Regions from separate parts of the Homo sapiens genome. Here region 2 is linked to region 1. Evidence: promoter capture Hi-C in human tissues and cell types (Jung and others, 2019). All regions are on one chromosome and are shown on one strand. Each heading gives the region's core, a stretch centred on a gene start or on the middle of the fragment in contact. The rest is flanking DNA. Distances are from core to core; before and after follow the strand shown.

Evidence for each region. The method cuts DNA at HindIII sites, captures the fragments that hold promoters and counts their contacts. A contact is called where the count stands out against the background at its distance.
Region 2: a fragment that was not itself captured here is called in contact with the fragment with the promoter of RNASE8 in region 1 in 1 of the 25 tissues and cell types used here (spleen).

What each region holds. Positions count from the first base shown.
Region 1 is chr14:21,056,411-21,059,110 of GRCh38, reverse strand. RNASE8 (ribonuclease A family member 8) reads right to left here and starts at 1,289. Exons shown (of 1, transcript NM_138331.2): 1 at 656-1,289. The coding sequence starts at 1,218. The coding sequence ends at 754. It also overlaps a transcript of NDRG2 not described here. The HindIII fragment of the contact is 9,179 bases long and covers 1-2,700 here.
Region 2 is chr14:20,877,288-20,879,987 of GRCh38, reverse strand. All of the region lies in intron 1 of LOC100507513 (a long non-coding RNA gene), which reads left to right. Among named protein-coding and RNA genes, the nearest start is that of RNASE3, 13 kb to the left of the region's middle. The HindIII fragment of the contact is 3,417 bases long and covers 1-2,700 here.

The DNA of each region.
Region 1 (2,700 bases), core at 40-2,539:
CCAGGGCTCAGCCTGTCCTTCCTGTCACTCTACCCCTTCACATGAGAGGGGGCCACCAGAGAGCCCTCAAGGGGCTGGAGGACAGAATCAAGCCAGCTTCCCAGACTGTGCCTGCTCAGGGTGCTGCTCTCCCTCCGGCCTGCAAGGCAGGTGGAGCTGATGCCTCACAGAAGTAAGTGTTTCAGGGCCTTTTCAGGGCCTTGGAATTGGAGCTCCAAACCTCTCCACTTACCCCAAGACAGTAACACACACTCCATCAGCAACAGCAGAGTCTTTATTACAGCAAGATCAGATGCATTTCTTTGCCCAACACAGGGAACACAGCAGAGATTCCCCTTCCTTCCTTCCTTAGATAATTACCCCTGTCTGGGATCTCCCTGGACTGTCCAGCCACAGCCCTTCCAAGGATCTGACTTATTTACGTTTGTAATTTTATATTCTTTTTCTTTAAGAGGGTCTTTGGTGAGCCACAGGCCTCACCAAACCCAGATCCATCCTTGTGGGGATCCTGAGTGCTTGACTCTGGAAGGGCTGCAAAGTAAGCTACAATGAAAGGCTGAAGAGAATCTGCCCTCTTCTTTCATCGTTTGGAGCGTCTGTAAAACTCCCTAAGAAACCAAGAGTATGTGAGGTTGAGTGTGTGGGAGGGAAATGGCATTTGCAGTGGGGAGCAAGGATTAATAACGAACTGGAGGGAGGAAAAGCAGCAGCATACAGTCTGCAGAGTGTGAGGTGGAACGTGGGCACCAGGGCTTAGACAACTTTATCCAAGTGCACAGGAACAAGTGGGTACCCTGGGTCACCCTGTTGTGGAGGGTCACAGGCCACTATGTAAGGTGTGTTCAGGTGCTTCTCTTTGTACCTGCAGTTTGGGTACTTCCCTGAGGTGAGCTCACCCATGGTCAGGGACATGGGCCCGTGGCTCTGGTGGCAGTTTTTACAGCTATTCTTGCAGGCTATGTTGGGGGTCTGGCAGGTGATGGCCACACTGGAGAAGGGCTCGTGCAGGAAGGTGTTGAGGTCTTTGCACCGTTCTGTGTACTTATTGATGATGCTCATGGCTGAGTTGCATGCTTGAGGGCTGGGCTGCACATGCTGAGTTTTAAACCACTGAGATGATGTCATGTCCTTGGGCTTGGCTCTGACTAGGACCTCTGCCACCCACAGCCCCAGAAGCAGCAGCAGCAGGGGGCAGCATCCTGCTCTGGCCGGTGCCATCTCTCTTAAGGGAGACAGTGGAACAGAGTGAGGAGGTAGGTGGATGAATAGGTCATCATGGGGGAGTCTTGTTAGTCCTTCTAAGAATTTCATACCCTAAGCCAGTTATTGCAGGGCAATGTGCAGCCTAAGATATTGAACACCCCTGGCATTCTATTGTTTAGTACCAGCAGATAATGTGCCTTTTTGTGCCTCTAATAAACACTTACCTTCTTTACCTCTCACAATAGTTTTATGGGTATGATTACCTTCTCACATATATATATATATATATGAATAAAATGAGGCTCAGGAAAGTTAAGAAAATTCCTATTATCCCACAGCTAGAGCGTGTCAAATACAAGATTTTAACCAGGACCTCTCAAGTTCCCTAACTCCTATTCTTCCCACACTCCCAGGTATCTTTTCTGAGACTGTGAGAAATCACAAAGAGAAACTAAATCTTTTTTTTTTTTTGAGATGGAGTTTCGCTCTTGTCGCCCATGCTGGAGTGCAATGGCGCGATCTTGGCTCACTGCAACCTCTGCCTCCCAGGTTCAAGCAATTCTCCTGCCTCAGCCTCCCAAGTAGCTGGGATTACAGGCATGCACCACCACGCCTAGCTAATTTTTTCTATTTTTAGTAGAGACTGGGTTTCTCCATGTTGGTCAGGCTGGTCTTGAACTCCTGACCTCAGGTGATCCACCCACCTCAGCCTCCCAAAGTGCTGGGATTACAGGCGTGAGCCACCGCGCCCGGTTAAGAGAAACTAAATCTTGAAGAAAAACATGTGAAAGGTCAATACCCCACTCTGCTGGACTAGCTTAGGTGTCCCTGAAAGAGTTGTTATTAAGGTCGTGGAGTCAAATGCATTCCTCCCCATTCTGTGGCCCAGTTTCTCACTGAAGTTAGAAAAAATGATCACTCCTAGTGAAGGGATCGCAGCTCCAGCTGTCAAAGCAGCATGGCGAGTTGGGTTCTTTCCATGCCTGACATTTTGCCCTGCTGGAGAATGTCTTGGAAGGATAGAGGGTCAGGGCTGGAAGGGACCTTAGAGTTCATCTCAGTTGACTCCCTCATTTTAAAGATGAGGGAGCTTGAGTTCCTGCAAGGGCAAGTACTCTTTCCAAGGCCGCCGAGTGAGTGGCAGAGCTGGGGCTAAGAGCTTCCTGATGTTCAACCCATCCCTTTGGGCTGGCGCCAAGCTAAAAAGGAAAGAGGAAAGAGTTTCCCATAGGAGCAGAGCAGAGTGAGTGTGTCTCTGTTTGTGGTTTTAGGTGGTGTGTGCTCATTGCCTTAATTTCTTCAGACCCTTCTAAAAACATTTAAGAGAAAGTCTCCTCTTAGAGCAAGAAGGTGAATTCTTTTACACTTTCCCGTGTTTGTTTCTCCTCCTTTTCAATAACGACAACAGGCCTCAGGCTGAGTTTTCAGCTGAAAACAATATCTGGATAGAATTTTTAAAAGTTAGATGATATTCATTACATTTATTTTTACTTCTGT
Region 2 (2,700 bases), core at 159-2,658, 180 kb after region 1:
CTAGGACTCATTTTTAATGTCCACGTCCCACTTCTCTGGCCCATACATCTAAATATGATATTGCAGTGTAGTATTATTAATGTTGCCATTGTTTTCTAATAAGGAGATAAAGTGTTTTTGGTCCAGTTTTGGGATTGACCTTTCTTTCTCCTTGCAAGTTTGTTGACATGGTGTCGATCACTGATGAGAGTTTGCACAAGTTCCTGGGTCTTATCTAACTCATTTTTGGGAAACTCTGTGTTAGATTTCTCTCTACTTTCATATTTAACTGTATTGCATCTATTCTTGTCCTATCTGTGACAAAGAGGAAACTGGCAACACCATTTACATTGCTGTGGCTGTAGTAACTAGCTGCCCTCAGGCTTATGCTCACTCTTGCATGGTGTAGGGTTGATGCTGAGAAGCGACAGCTCAGGTAGGAACTATAGTTCCCACTTGAAGGCCATGCCAGTGAAAAATGGCCAACGCAGTTGAGAAAGTGTGCTTCTCCACCTTCTATTCTGTTTGCCAGCTACATTAAATGGATGAGGAAATGACAGAACCACAAGATGGAAGTAATCTGTGTCTCTGAATGATACATGGAACAAGGCTACCTGTCAATGAGCAATACTAGGCTTTTATGTAACAAGATATTGTTTTCTATTTTATATGTACTCTGGTAGAACAAACTCTCTCACCTTGTTTTTTAGTTTGTTTTTTTTGAAGGTGTCTTTGCTATTCTTATACATCTATATATCCTCTAGAATCAGTAAGTTCCCAAACTAAACAAACAAAAACTGGGTTGAGAATTTGATTGGAATTGTACTGAATCTGAAACTGCCTTTGCAAAGATTTTGACAGTAAGAGAAATCTGACATAGTTGACTTTATCTTGCTTCTAACCTCCAAGCTGTCCATGGTCATTCCTGGGCATAGGCCAACCTACATCAGGTGGAATTTAGTTTATAGTTCAACTGTAAAGTGAGGATGATAGTAGCCTTTCCCAAAACTCTGTAAAACTAGTGAAAGGCTGCAAGGTTAGGATTATGAGAGGCTCCTGAATTCTGATGAAATGTATTTTCTATAATCCCTTACTGCTCAAGGGTCACGTGACCAGAGGTCACAAGATTTGTCACTTCTCCAATTGCTCCTATAGGTAACATCACTACTGTGGAACCTGAGTTTTGTCTTTTGAGATGTTTTTTCAGATTTTTGCATTCTGGCAACCTATGGAACCAGGGCTCATAACTCAACCAGTCATGTGGTTCCACCCAGATGCAGACTCAGCCCACGAGGCAGCCCACGAGGATTGTTTTTCACACCTATATGATTTCATTCCCAGCCAATCAGCAGCACCCATTCTCTAGCCACCTGCCCACCAAACTATCCTCGCAAACCCCTAACCTCCAAGCCTGCAGGAAGACTGATTTGAGTAATAACTCTGTCTCCCTCGTTGCCAGTCTTGTGTCAATGAAACCCTTTCTTTACTGCAATGCCATGGTCTCAGTGAACTGATTTTGTCTGTGCAGCAGGCAGGAAGAACCCATCAGGCAATTACAAATCTATAGGTCAATTTGCAGAAAAATTGATGTATCTAAATTAGTGAGTCTTGCAATCTATAAACATGCTCTAACTCTCTGGTTACCTTAATGTCTCACAATAAAGTTTTGTACTTTTGTCCATAAAGTTCTTGTTTATCTTTTCCTAGTTTTTCTCCTTATGAACTTAATATTTTTAATAGTATTGCAAATTGAATCATTTTAACATTTCAGTTTCTGCCTGTTGCTGGGGTTAGGGCTCAGAACACATCACTCCAAAATATTCCTCTCTAGCATATTGATTATTAACTATTTATTTAGAGAAACTGCCCGCACAGGAGTTAGCTCTGAAAAGCTGCCCTTTTGTAAAAGAAATTTAGATCTATAAAAGAAATTTTCACTGGTAAAGGTGTTTTTGATCAGGAAGAGAGCTGCTCCAAGGCAATTTTTATCCCCTGAGAGACTCTTATCTGCATAACAAGGCAACCTTTATTTACCATGTATTTACTATATGTTTCCTCCTCTCACGCTCCGGTAACTTGCACCACCACTCTCCAGAAGCCCCAAGCCTCTGTTTCTTTCTGTAGCTTAAGATGCTATATAAGCTTTATTCATCTGGCCTTTCTTTGAGTCTTATATTTTTGTGGGACTCCTATGTATACACACATAATTTAATACAGTTTTTCTTGTGTTAATCCGTCTTATGTAATTTAACTTGTAGCCCAGCCACAAAAAACCTAAGAGGGTGGAAGGAAGTCATTTTTCCCTCCCCTGTGCTGAAATATAAAAATAAATAAACCATATGCCAATTTTATATCTAGCAATTATTAATCTAAATAATTAATTTGCATATGTAGGGGTAAAGGGGAATTTCCCTTTCCCTTTAAGGTTTGAGTTTGCCGAAATTAACCGATGGAAGATTAGCTGCAGAAAAAGGCAAGTTTATTGTATTCATGGGGGAATGATGAGAGAGTGACTTCCCAGTAACCCAGTGAGGTTCAGAATCTATATGCCCTTCTTCACAGGAGAGAGAGAGATGGCGGAATGTAGGCAATTTTGAGGAATAGGAAATTATTTTTAGGAGAGTTGAATGGGCCCAAAGAACCTACCATAGTTTGTAAATTATACTCTTTGGAAACTCTTTGGAGTATGACAAAGAATAGACAACAGCTTCTGACAAAGTC